Linked DNA regions of Homo sapiens: all the other regions are linked to region 2. The links are contacts of gene promoters, found by promoter capture Hi-C in blood cells and fetal thymus (Javierre and others, 2016). All regions are on one chromosome and are shown on one strand. The core of a region is centred on a gene start or on the middle of the fragment in contact, and the rest is flanking DNA. Distances in the headings are between cores, read along the strand shown. Region 1 overlaps MAML3 (mastermind like transcriptional coactivator 3). Region 2 holds the start of NAA15 (N-alpha-acetyltransferase 15, NatA auxiliary subunit). Region 3 overlaps MAML3 (mastermind like transcriptional coactivator 3).

What was found. The method cuts DNA at HindIII sites, captures the fragments that hold promoters and counts their contacts. A CHiCAGO score of 5 or more calls a contact.
Region 1: a contact is called between a fragment that was not itself captured here and the fragment with the promoter of NAA15 in region 2, in 1 of 17 cell types (activated CD4 T cells). The highest score is 5.3, in activated CD4 T cells.
Region 3: a fragment that was not itself captured here is called in contact with the fragment with the promoter of NAA15 in region 2 in 1 of 17 cell types (total CD4 T cells); the score reaches 5.5 in total CD4 T cells.

Annotation. Positions count from the first base shown.
Region 1 is chr4:140,071,401-140,075,912 of GRCh38, forward strand. The region is part of intron 1 of MAML3 (mastermind like transcriptional coactivator 3); the gene reads right to left. Among named protein-coding and RNA genes, the nearest start is that of MAML3-AS1, 54 kb to the right of the region's middle. The HindIII fragment of the contact is 7,999 bases long and covers 1-4,512 here.
Region 2 is chr4:139,299,647-139,304,218 of GRCh38, forward strand. It overlaps NAA15 (N-alpha-acetyltransferase 15, NatA auxiliary subunit), which reads left to right and starts at 1,859. Exons shown (of 20, transcript NM_057175.5): 1 at 1,859-2,185. The coding sequence starts at 2,132. NDUFC1 (NADH:ubiquinone oxidoreductase subunit C1) reads right to left here and starts at 2,831. Exons shown (of 6, transcript NM_001184989.2): 1 at 2,770-2,831. RefSeq lists enhancers at 1,250-1,369, 1,850-1,909. The HindIII fragment of the contact is 1,328 bases long and covers 1,424-2,751 here.
Region 3 is chr4:140,098,122-140,102,470 of GRCh38, forward strand. All of the region lies in intron 1 of MAML3 (mastermind like transcriptional coactivator 3), which reads right to left. Among named protein-coding and RNA genes, the nearest start is that of MAML3-AS1, 28 kb to the right of the region's middle. The HindIII fragment of the contact is 7,579 bases long and covers 1-4,349 here.

The DNA.
Region 1 (4,512 bases), core at 1,848-4,347, 770 kb after region 2:
GCCCAGCTTTTTAATTTTACAGCTTTTACACTGAGGTGACACCCCTGTCCCCAGCCCTGCTATCGTGGACATTCCCATTAACCCTGTTAGTTTTAAATGTTAAAAACAGAGAACTCAAGACATCTACTTTTTTAATGTCAAGAAATGCAAAGTGGCCTATGATAATAAACATAAACACATACATAATAGCCCAGGACTTAAAAACAAATCCCTTCATTTCTTAGACCCACAGCCACATAGATCTCACAGTTTAAAAAAAAAAAAAAATCCACAGTGAAACGTATCAGCGTACATTCTCTTTCAGATCCAATACACAGAAAATCTTTACACTTATAATTTTACAGGGACCAGGATTAGAGAGAGAGAGAGAGAGAGAGAGAGAGAGAGAAGGCACGCATCTGCTTTATGTTCTCAGTGACCAGCTGAACAGATGGTCAAGAATATTGTTAGTTAAGAAAGCTCTCATTCATGATCAGAAAGTCCCTTGGGCAGGCTGGTGTGGGGTGCAAGAATGTCCTAGAATGTAATATTTGAAGAATGTGTTCATGTCTGAGATATGAACCCATGTGGTGGACGTGGGGGAGGAAGGGGGAGAACAGACAGCCTGTTGTGATCCAAAAAGCAACCACAAGTACCTCAACATTGGTTTGTCACCCAGACACTTCCGGCTTTCATTCCACCCACTCCCTCAACAGTATTAAAAGTGAAGAAAACCATTGATAGGTCTCAGTAGCTGCCATAATCCTTCCTTCTCTAGACATGAGTGCAGTCAGCCCTCCGTATTCATGGATTCTGCATCTGTGGATTCAACCAACAGATATTCCAAATATTTTCCAAATATTTGAAGGAAAAAATTATGACTGTACTGAACATGTACAGACTTTTTTCTTGTCATTATTCTCTCAACAATACAGTGTAACAACCATTCACATAGCATTTACATTGTGTTAGGTATTATAAGAAATCAAGGGATAACTTAAAGTATACAGGCCAGGCGTGGTGGCTCATGCCTGTAATCCCAGCACTTTGGGAGGCCAAGGTGGGCGGATCACCTGAGGTCAGGAGTTCAAGACCACCCTGACCAACATAAAGAAACCTCGTCTCTACTAAAAATTCAAAATTAGCCAGGCATGGTGGCGCGTGCCTGTAATCCCAGCTACTTGGGAGGCTGAGGCAGGAGAATCGCTTGAACCTGGGAGGCAGAGATTGTGGTGAGCCAATATCGTGCCATTGCACTCCAACCTGGGCAACAAGAGCAAAACTCCGTCTCAAAAAAAAAAAAAAAAAGTATACAGGAGGACGTCCGTAAGTTATATGCAAATACAACACCATTGTATATCAGGGACTTTAGCATCCCTGGATTTGGGTGTCTGTCAGGGGGTCCTGTAGCCATCCCCCATGGACACCAAGGGACAGCTGTACCTCACCAGTAGAAAAATATAAAAGGGAGGTAGAAGAGGATACGCTGCATGAAGTTGCCACTTCTTTGTCACTTCTTCTGGGCTAACACAGAAGATGTAAAAAGAAACAGGGGGTCCTATGTGTTCATCCCAATATGAGCATTTCCTGGGTGAAATTTCTCTAAATTTAAGTCGCCTCTCAACCTGACCAACAGAAAGTGTGTTTGTCTAGGGAGGGAGGAGGATGGCTGGTCATGAGCACTATAAAATCTATGGGAGAACTGGAAATCAACAAATCTGCAACCATCTGGCTTTCCATACCAATTTATATCCATGTTTTCTTTTTTTTTTTTTTGAGATACAGTCTCTCTCTGTCACCCAGGCTGGAGCGCAGTGGCAAGATCTTGGTTCACTGCAACCTCCACCTCCTGGGTTCAAGCAATTCTCGTGCCTCAACCTCCCAAGTAGCTGGGATTATAGGCGCCTGCCACCATGCCCGGCTAATTTTTGTATTTTTAGTAGAGACAGGGTTTCACCATGTCGGCCAGGCTGGTCTCAAACTCCTGACCTCAAGTGATCCACCCACGTAGGTCTCCCAAAGTGCTGGGATTACAGGCGTGAACCACCTCGCCCAACCCTTCACTTTTTCAACAAAATTTCTTATAGACTTCCATCAGAGAGACTCTGGTACTATAGATGAGTTCCCTGGTGTTTTGATCTTTCTCCCACCCTGCAGTGAGCACCTACTTCCTGGCTGTGAGGTATTGTGCCAGGCACCCACAGTATACAAGAGACATGAGATATGGGGATATCCATACCCTCCGCCTGCCATTTTGGGGACAGGGGGTGTATGTGAGTCAAGCAACATTCACAGCTTCTAAAGCTAGAAAAAATAGTCTTCAAAATAATCCATATGTTGCTTTTTGCAACTCATTTTAGTGCCTTGATTGGAAAGTTCTGAGGAGGATATTAATGAGAAACTGGGGTCACCAAAATCAAACAGGAGGCCTGGTTTGGAGCAGGGAGCAAAGTAATCAGAAAGAGGACACGTGGCCAGGTGTGGTGGCTCATACCTGTAATCCCAGCACTTTGGGAGGCCGAGGCGGGCAGATCACGAGGTCAAGAGATCAAGACCATCCTGGCCAACATGGTGACACCCCATCTCTACTAAAAATACAAAAATTAACCGGGCATGGTGGCGCTCACCTGTAGTCCCATCTACTCGGGAGGCTGAGGCAGGACAATAGCTTAAACACGGGAGGTGGAGGTTGCTATGAGCCAAGATTGTGCCACTGCACTCCAGCCTGGCGAGAGAGTGAGACTTCGAAAAAGAAAGAAAAAGAAAGAAAGAAAGAGAGAGAGAAAGGAAAGAAAGAAAGAGAGAGAGAGAGAAAGAAAGAGAAAGAAAGAAAGAAAGAAAGAAAGAAAGAAAGAAAGAAAGAAAGAAAGAAAGAAAGAAAGAGGACATGTGTACTATGAGGGAGAGGGTCATTATTCATCCCCAGCTATTCCCCAGCTTCTTCCTTCCTTGTACCTACCAGCAACCCCCTGGTCCTTTGAAAACATATAAGGCAGAATCCTCAGCTGCCACCACAAATGACCTCGGAAGGGTCAGCTAACAGCAACAGTCATACAGGTTGAACATTTTTAATTTAAAAATCTAAAATCTGAAATGCTCCAAAATCTGAAACTTTGTGAGTGCCAACATGATGCCCCACGTGGAAAATTCTGCACCTGACCTCATGACAGGTCGCAGTCAAAATACAAGCACACAACATGCAGTCTATTCCGCATCCCAGCTCTTCTGGTGATGCTACTGTGCTGCTTAGTTACCCTGAGCACATTAGTTTTCACTGTATTCATAGTATGTCATATTTTAGTGTTAAGTACTTATGTGTGTAAGTGTAAGAAAATGATTGCTTATAGGGGCCATATAAATTCACAGTCAGGAATGACGGTGATGCCAAACAACCACAGATGGCCCACATGGATGGCTGAGATAGTGACTCCTTTGCTTTCTGATAGTTCAATGTACACAAACTTTGTTTCATGCACAAAGTTATTAAGAATATTGTATAAAATTACCAGGCTATGTGTACAAGGTGCATATGAAGAATAAATGAATTTCGTGTTTAGAATTGGGTCCCAGTCCCAAGATATCTCATTATATATATGCAAATATTCCCAAATCCAGAAATATCCAAAATCTAAAACACTTCTGGTCCCAAGCATTTTGGATTAGAGATACTCAACCTGTAGTTTACTTTACTGAACGCTTATGATAGACTCAGCACTGTTAAGTGCTTTAGATCTATCATCTCATTTAATGCTCATAACATTTCTGTGAGGCAGGTTATTAGTGCCAATTTATCCATAAGAAGGCTGAAGTTTGGGAAATTTAAGCTATTTGGCCAAGGTCACATTGCTAGCAAGTGGCAGAGACAGGAATTTGTTCCAGGTTATGTCTCCTTCCAGTGTCAAGGTACTTTTCACCTGTCTGAGATTTTCCAAAATTAACTGCATTAAAGAATTAAGAAAAAAGTAAAATATAGATGTGTAGAAAAAAACAAGTTAACAAAATGCAAGTCTCTTGTGCTCTTAACATCAAAATCTAGATGTTTAGCAATTAATGAGTTCGCTAACCAATTTTCCTCATAGAGCGTTATAAAGAACATATATGTATGTGCACTTTATATATTTTAAAGCACAATGTGAAAGTTAAACATAGATACATATTATTTTATTTTATTTTTAGAGATAGGATGTCACTCTATCACCCAGACTGGAGTGCAATGGTGCTATCATAACTCACTGCAGCCTGGAACTCTTGGGCTCAAGCAATCCTCCCACCTCAGCCTCCTAAGTAGCTGGGACCATGGGCACACATCACCATGACTGGCCAATTTCAAATTTTTTTTGTAGAGATGACGTCTCCCTATGTTGCCCAGGCTAGTCTTTTTTGGGGGTGGGGGCGGAGGGGGACAGGGTCTCTCTCTGTCGCCCAGGCTGGAGTGCAGTGGTATGATCTTGGCTCACTGCAACCTCTGCTTCCCGGATTCAAGCGATTCTCCCACCTCAGCCTCAAGAGTAGCTGGGACTACAGGCATGCACC
Region 2 (4,572 bases), core at 609-3,108:
GGTCAGACTGTTATCTGTAGGTGCATTTTAACTAGCAAATGAATCAGTTAAATGTTGAATCAGACTAGTATTTGCCGAGCCTTTAAAATTGCCATTTCTTTGTCATCACCCAAAAAGAATGTAACATTTGCCAAACTCTATTTCTGGCTCATCTAATCAGGTACTCAGGTTCTGGTGGAAGCTACTGATTGTTTCAAAGACCAGAAATTTTCTTCCTCTGAAGGAAAATAGAATATTCTTTACAGGAGAAATTTAGAGAACTATAGCAAATAGTATTGCTGTAGGGATTTTTGGATATGAAGCCAGAAATTTGGATATGAAGCCAGAGATTTGGAAATCCAAGCTAAAACTATCAACTGCATTTAGACTATTTTTTCTGTCTTTCAATAGTTCAGACAGTTGAAAGATCTCTTGGGGCAGTGAATTTTGCAGGTTATTACTAAGTAACAGCTTAAAAATGAATTATAAGCTTGTTCTTAGTTTTATAAAGTTAAGGTTAAAATACTGGCCATATTTCAAACTGAAACATAGTTTCCTGTATATATGATTTTTCTCAAACTTTTGAAGAGAGATCACAGAATTTAAGGAAACTCCAGGATTTGACTGTTAAAAACCTTATTTATGACCCCGGTGAAGGGCGAGGACAATCAATATAGCAGCTACAAAACCCAAGTTTATATTGGGAAACATGTATCTCAACTCACACCTTTCAGGGACAGTTAAGAGAAGTTTGAAAATTAAAATATCTTTGCAAATAAATTTAAAACAGTAAAAAACACGCACATATTGTTTAATAATTCATGATGCAAAGAATGCTACAGAGTGAAATCAGGATTTGGAAAGAGGTAATCAAAAACCAAAGGTTAAAAGTGGCTCATATAACTTGAAAATTTTTAGATCAATGGAATGCCACTTTGAAAAAGTTTTACGGTCAGCTGTTAATGAAATGACTTACATTTTTGGAAGGACTCCTATTCGGTATGTAGTCTGACCTCGCCTACTCGAGTAGTTCCCTCTAGTATCCTTGCCAGTCTTTGGCTTCTAAGATCTGAGAATTTCTGGGGATGGGGAGTTCGAGTCACAATATTAAGAACTAGTTTGAAGCCAGCTCCAGGGTAGTCTGTCTTTAAGTCTCCACTACTCCGCTCCAAGGTGACTCATAAGGTCGGTCCGTCAACTCTGCATTATATGGCCTCAACAACGAAATTAAAACACATACTTTAACCTCCAGAGCCTCCTTTGGCAGTGCAAATATGTCACTTCGGATCTGACTAACTACCTTTCCAGGCTGATCTTAAGCAACATTCACCAAATTACCGATACGACAGCCAGGCCCATTTCATCGGTCAAGCTCTTTCACGATTTCCAGACTCTGTTAAGCCCCTTTCTCCCCAGGGCTGTTAACAAGTCTCCACTGCGGTGAAGCTTTTTTCATTTTCCACTCCGCCTCTGCTCCTTAAATTAGGCATTTCGTCCATAATCAACTACAGCGCTTCTCAAACACCTACACCTGTATTTTAGCACTTTGGGCTCAAACGATGATCACACAGTGTGCGAGACTCTTTCCAAGGAATGAAAGGTCGATCTAGCAGGAAGGCGCCAGAGAGGCTGTTTTTGATGAGGAGGCGGTCTGAACCGTACTTGCCTAGCCTCCCGTAGCTCCGCGGGCGCTTCGAGGGTACCACGCACTGAAATGATGGGCGGGGCCTGCCCCGACCCTCCCGGCCTCCACAGGCAGGCCAGCCTCCAGGTTTCCCGGCAAGCTCCGAAACCCAGAGGAGGTGGGGAAAGGAGGTCACCGCGCCTGCGTGTTAGGAAGCGTGACCCGGGTGGGAAAACCCTCCGCGTCCGCCATTTTGGCTGCCTCTGTCGGTCTGTTCAGTTACCACGTGAACCGCCGACGGAGACCCGTAGTGGGGGAGGCGGCGGCAGCGTTAAGTGAGAAAGGAAAAAAGACAACGAGGAAAAAGGAGGTGTCCGGGTAGGGCAACGCGGCGACACCCGAGGCCTGGTGGTGGCGGCGGATCGAGATATTCAAGGCTGAAGCAGCTACGGAACGGCAGCGGCGGCGGTCGGACAAACTGACTGACCGAGCCGGGTGGTGGCGGGAGCAGCGGGAGCAGCCGGAACGATGCCGGCCGTGAGCCTCCCGCCCAAGGAGAATGCGCTCTTCAAGCGGATCTTGGTAAGTGTGAGGCTCCGGGCAAGCGGTGGGGAGGATTTAGCCGGTAACCGGGCCTGTCACCCCTAACCTCGGCCCGGCGGGCACTGAGCCACTCCCGCCCGGGACCCCGCCTTCATAGCTCTCGTCAGGCCGAATGCATTGCTTTGCTCCCTCTCTGTGGTTCCTACTATGGCCCGCGCGCCAGGGACCACAGGCTTCTTCATTCCATCCCCACGCTTGAGGCCCTGGTTCCGGACTAGGCCCCGACCTCCCGGCTTCTAGACTGCCGGTTCTCATTCTCCCCGATCTGGGGGAGAAGAGGCCCGGCCTTTGGCGGGCAAGTGGGCGACACCGGCAGGAGTCGCGGCCCGGTTGGTGTGGGAACCCTGCTGGCAGGTCGGGGTGGCACCCTTGGAAGGAACAGGTGGTGCGGATGCAGCAGGCTCATTCATTGCCTAAACGCGGTTCTCCCTCCATCATCTGTCCCTCCCTCTTCCTCCTCTCTTGGGATTCACCTGTCTCCGCCCGGCCCGGGGTCACCCAATGACCTGAGAGGAGGGAAAGAAGGAGTTCAGAGAAGGAAAGAAAGCTTTTCAAACGACTACCTCCTTGTAGTCAGTTGCATACTGGAGTCTTCAGCTCCTCTGCCTCCGTTGTTCTCGTTTCTGGAGTAGGGATGAGGCATTTATTTCTTAGTTTCCGAGCGGGAAACAGCCCCACCCCGTCACTCTTCTCGGGAGGTGGGGCCCATTGCGAGGGGGCGGTTCGGTAGGAAGTAAAAAGTTGAGTCTTTAGTTGAAACGTTGCAGACCTAGACTTTTCTTATACACTGAAGTATATTAACACATGCAAAAACTTACCAGAGAAATGAGAATATAAGAACTTTTGAGATGGATTTTGTTGACGCTAGCTCAGACTTATTCCCTACGGTTCAAATGTGTGCAGTTTGTATTTTTTTAAACCATAAATGCATTGATGTTTGCAGGGACTGTTTACATTGTAAAATATGTCCTGTAGCCTTGGAGCTATAATTAACACATTGTAGCACATTTTTTGTTTGGCATTTAGTATGTGGGTTCCCCCTTTCACGCAAACGTTTCCTTATGATAGAATTAACTGTATTTGCCAAATTTAAGACTTTTAAAATTTGGGATGTGTGTGTGAAAGTGTTAGCCTTTTCCCCCGCAGTTATAATTTATTTCACCTGTTTGAAAAGTAGAACAACTCTGGGGATTCAGTTTTTCTAGAAATGAATAATCATCCATTTGAACTAACTTTGATTTTACAAAAGTGTCCATATGCCCTACAGATTTAGTGAATTCATTTTGAAAAACATTAGAAAGTCACATGCAGTGTCGCAAAACTGTTACCTTGAAATTCTTACTGGAATTTTGTTTTGTTTTAAGACTAAGAGTGTAGGTGGAGCTGTAAAATAGTTTTAGGAAAAAAGTTACTTTTAAACCCTTAAAAAGACTAATTGGTGTGCAGGTAGAACTGTAACATAAGTTTAGAATAGCAATTTATCTTTAATCTCTTTTTCACAATTCTTTATTTTGAAAAAAATGAAACTGAAAAGTTGAGAGAACAAGGAACACTCATAAACCTTTACTTATATTTATTTGCCATATATGCTTTCTCTCTCCCTATGTATATGTATATATACATTTGTATAAAAGTAAGTTGTAGATGTAAAATTTATCTCTAGGCTGGGCACGGTGTCTCATGCCTGTAATCCCAGCACTTTGGGAGGCTGAGGCAGATGGATCACTTGAGGTCAGGAGTTCGAGACCAGGCTGGCCAACGTAGTGAAATCCTGTCTCTACTGAAAATACAAAAATTAGTCAGGCATGGTGGTGTTCGCCTGTAGTCCCAGCTACTAGGGTGGCTGAGGCACAAGAATCGCTTGAACCCGGGAGGTGGAGGTTGCAGTTCCAGCCTTGGCAACAGAGGAAGACTGTCTCAAAACAAAAACAAAAAACTTCATCTCTAAATACTTAAGCAAGCATCTCCTAAGAATAAGGACATCGTCTTGTATACTTATAACAATCATTCTCTAATATTGTCTAATATCTGGTTCATATGGAGATTTTCTCAAGTGTTAGCACTTTTTTTTGTTTGTTTGTTTGAGACGGAGTCTCGCTCTGTCGCCCAGGCTGGAATGCAGTGGCGCGATCTCGGCTCACTGCAAGCTCCGCCTCCTGGGTTGACGCCATTCTCCTGCCTTAGCCTCCCAAGTAGCTGGGACTACAGGTGCCCGCCACCACGCCTGGCTAATTTTTTGTATTTTTTAGTAGAGACGGGGTTTCACCATGTTAGCCAGGATGGTCTCAATCTCCTGACCTAGTGATCCGCCCGCCTCGGCCTTCCGAAGTGCTGCTATTACAGGCGTCAGCCACCGCACCCGGCCA
Region 3 (4,349 bases), core at 199-2,698, 800 kb after region 2:
TTCAAAAACTGGGAGAACTTCTATTTTGCATATGTGAAGTGTGTTTATTTATACCCAAACAATATTGTGATAAAGAACATTTGTAGTTCACTCAAAATATTCGCAGTATGCTCAAAAGGGCAAAGGTTTTTTGAATCCGAGCTCTATTACATACAATGCGCACGTCCTTGGGCAAATTATTTCTCTAGACCTTGTTTTCTTCATCTGTGTAATGGGGAACTAGGTTTCATCATTTTTTATGAAGATTAAGTGAAATATCAGCTGGCAAGCACTTAACAGAAGCTGGCACATGGCATTCAAGCAATCATGCATTTAGTAAATATTTATTGAGCACCTCGTATACGCCAGGCTGTGTTGTAAACACAGAGCCTCACCAACCAAAGGGAGAAGCCAGATTCCCCCTTTCTTATCCTTCCCGTATCATCACCAGGACTTCTCAGGGGCTCTGAAAGCCTGTGAAAATGAAACCAACTGGACGCAGTACCAATGCCAAACACCATTATTTTCAATATCTCATGGTGCTCTGCACCAAGGATTGAATTTTCAAGTGAGATTCACGCTGCCCATGAGTCCTGGGCACAAAGGCCATGTGGCTACTGGTCTGCATCGGGCTATTCACCTGGGGACCCAAAAGCAGAGCCCTGGAGCCACCCACACCCTGGCCTCCAGGGTTTAGACAGAAATAGAACTTAAGAGACATAGGTTGCTGTCTCTCTTGCCTTTTTGCTCTTAAAATGAGAAAGGTGACTTATTTTGAGGTGGGGGAGGGATACCCTCTATTCAGAGGAAGTTCCCACATGAACTGCTACATTGTTTCTCTGACTCATTTTTACTTTTCCTCCCCATTGCTTCCCAGCCCTCCCTTGATGTCTCGGTCTGTTCCAGATGTGGTACAATAGGCTCTTTGTTTACAAGATTGTAATGTGCAATAAAATCAGTTATGAGGCCAAGAATAATTTATGCACAAAAAAATAAGGACAGTAAAATTGACATGAATTGTATGTTTTACAGTACTTTTTGATCTGTTACATTCCTGTTGATAGAATTGATAGACACTAGCTAAAAACTTTTAAGTGTTCATAAAACTCTGTTCACATTGGAAGTATATCACACACACACACACACACACACACACACACGTGCACACAAACAACTCAGGAGCAAAACTTTTTTAAAAGCCTTAAGCAAAATACTGAGTTCTTAATTTTGTTACTGACACAAGCATCCACCCAGTCTCACAAGTAAGAAATCTGTAGCTATTTTCTTTTTTTTCTTTCTTTCTGTCTTTGTTTTTAGAGACAGGGTCTCACTCTGCCACCCAGACTGGAATACAGTGGCACCATCATAGCTCACTGCAGTCTCGAACTCCTGGGTTCCAGCAATCCTCCCGCCTGGAGTTATTTTCAGTGGGTAAGGCAAGGTTTCATGGGAAATCATAGACAGTTTGTAGCCAAACATGCTTGGCTCTGAATCTCAATCCTATTCACTTCTAGCTAGGAGGTTTTTAAACATCTCAAAGCCTCAGTTACTGCATATGAAAAATGGATTTTGGTGAAAATTAAATTAGATAAAGGATGAGCAGAATGTCTGAACACATGTTTGGCAATCAGAAAGTTATTTCTCCAACCTCCCTTCCCCAACACACCTCTCAAAACCTTTCTTTTCCATTCTATCACTCAGTTTCATCTCTCCTGGACTACTGCTCTCCGACAGGGTTTTCAGCCTTTTGTCTACTACTCCTTCAAACCATCCCAAACCTGCTATTACAAACAACATTCAAAAATCAGAAATTTGATCATGGCACTCCCTGTCACAAATCCTCCTATGGTGATAACATTCAGAACAAATCTGCATTCAGAGAAAGTCCACGTGTCCCCAACCCATCTGTTCAGCCTCAACTCCCCCATGACCACCCCACCCCTGCCCCTTGAACGACCGCAGCCCCCACGTTCCAGGCACCCAGTCATTGTGAGTGGAGCATGCCATCTGCTCTGGTGCATGGACTCTCACTGCCACTCCTCCGGGATGCCAGCCCCACTCCACCCCCTCCCATCTGTAGAGATCACTGTCTCCTTCAAGGCTTAGCCCCAGTGCCACTTCCTCTCTGCAACGTTCCCGGATTTCCTCTGCTGACTCAAGCCTCCACTCATGTGTCTATGCCTTTCTCAAGTTTATTATTTAAACTTTTGTTCTCCAGTTATCCATATCTATGAGGGTCCACCCCCCTAGACTCAGTTCCTCCATGACAGAGACCAAATTGTATTCATTTTTACAAACAGTCCTCAAGTTTTATCCTTCCTTGCAAGAAGAAAATAAAACCAAACAGATAATTTATTGAACTGAAAGGACAGAATGAGGATAGAAGTAACTAAACAATGCCCCTGTGAATAGAGGCATTTCTTAGTGGAAAAACATATATATGTGTGTGTATGTTTGTATAATGTAAAAACGGAGCAAGCCATTCCCAAAGTGCTTCAAATTCTGGCAAAACTAAGATGCACTTAAAATGAAGTCTTAGGTGTATTAAAAAAAAAAAAGATTTCAAAAACCTCAGCAAACCACAGAGGTATACACCATATGTGGTAGATTAAAAATGACCACAAATTCTTTGATCCTTCTTCCATGGACAGATGTGTCTATTCCACAACCTGCGTCCACCACTTTTAAAGGTGAGTTGCCTATAACTGCTTGGACCAATCAAGTATGGGAGTGATTTTGAATATGGGAGTGATATTATGCCATTTCCAAACCTAGTGCTTAATATGACTAACAGTTTTGGCCTTGGTCTCTTGGAACCCTGGGCTTCCCTGTAAGAAATATGAGTACCCTAATGGAGAAACCACATGGAATGGCTCCAAGGCTCCATGGAGAGGCAGACAGGCCCAGTGGGGAGCTCAGTCTTCCAGGCATCCTTGCCAAGGTGCCAGGAAGGTGAGTGAAGCCATATTGGATCCTCCAGATCAGAGCAGCCATTGACTGACTAACAGCAAGGGACCAGAGTCGACGCTACATGGAATAGAAGAATCACTCAGCTGAGCCCTGCTTGAACAAAATCACAGATATAATCAAATAATGGTTGTTTAAGCCGTCAAGTTTTGGTGTGGTTTGCTAGTTAGCAATAGGTAACAGGAACACAATTTTAATCCCTTTTGGCCCAGCGTCCTACCCTACCTAATAGAACACTTTTCCTCTAAAGGGAGGAAAGTGGCCTTGTGTAGAATAGAGCTCCCAAGTCACTGATGGTCTAGTTGAAGGGATGAGAAACTCACCAGGCTCTTGGACAGTTGCAGTTGTAATGCACTTGTGTAATGTATAATACACATTTCTTTCAGATAAGTTCAGTTTACCCACAGCTGTTCTATCTGTCAACAGATATTGGGGCAAATGTGGTTAATAACTTCAGGAACAATTTGGTAGAATTCTACTCAGGAAGCCAGGAGACCCTCCATTTCAGTCTTTTACCATCCACATCTCTTGTGTATATGAGGAAGAAATGTTTGTGTCTTCATTTGCCTAGCTATCACATGAAGAGAAGCATACGTGATACCTCTTAGATCAGTGTAAATTAGAAATGAAATCAGGTTATGGACTGAAAACACCTTCAGTTCCTTGGCCAAAAAAAGGCTAGGTAAACTCAAGGTACTATCATCATTTTGCAAATATGTTATTCCACTATATAAAATAGCCTAAATTAGTAAATGCAATTCCACGTGCTGGGTCAGCTGAGCATTTTTTTTTTTTTTTTACATTTGCCAGATTCCCCTTGTTTTGTCTTTCTAGCCAATAGAACAACACTAAAATATATGGAGAATTTAACTAACTTTTGAAAAAGAGATAACACAAGTTAGAACCAGAAGAAGTCATCTGTGCCATAAGTTTGTGTCTTCTAAGAGCCATCAGCCAGGCAAAATGAAGTGGGAAACTTGAAACTTAACATGTATAAATGATTTGTGTTGTTTTGTTTTAATGCTAAGTACTCAGCAAAAAGCTGAGTTATTAGAAAATGGACACTAGCCTGTGCTTGTGGGCATAAATTCTCCATCTATGAGAAGGCATGAATTGAGGCACTATATTGATTACATTATGTTGTTTATTCTCATATAACTCTCTATTGTAGAAACGATTTCTAGCCCCATCTTCAAGATGGGAAATGGAATCCTAGAGAGACTTCATTTTTCTCCTATATTTGTATTTAGCAATTGCTATTGCTGCCGTAAGAAAATAACACAGGGTGGCTTGAACAACAGAAATTTATTTTCTCACAGTTCTGGAGGCTGGAAGTCCAAGATCAAGGTGCCAAGCAAGGCTGGTTTCTCCTGAGGCCTCTATCCTTGGCTTGCAGATGGCCG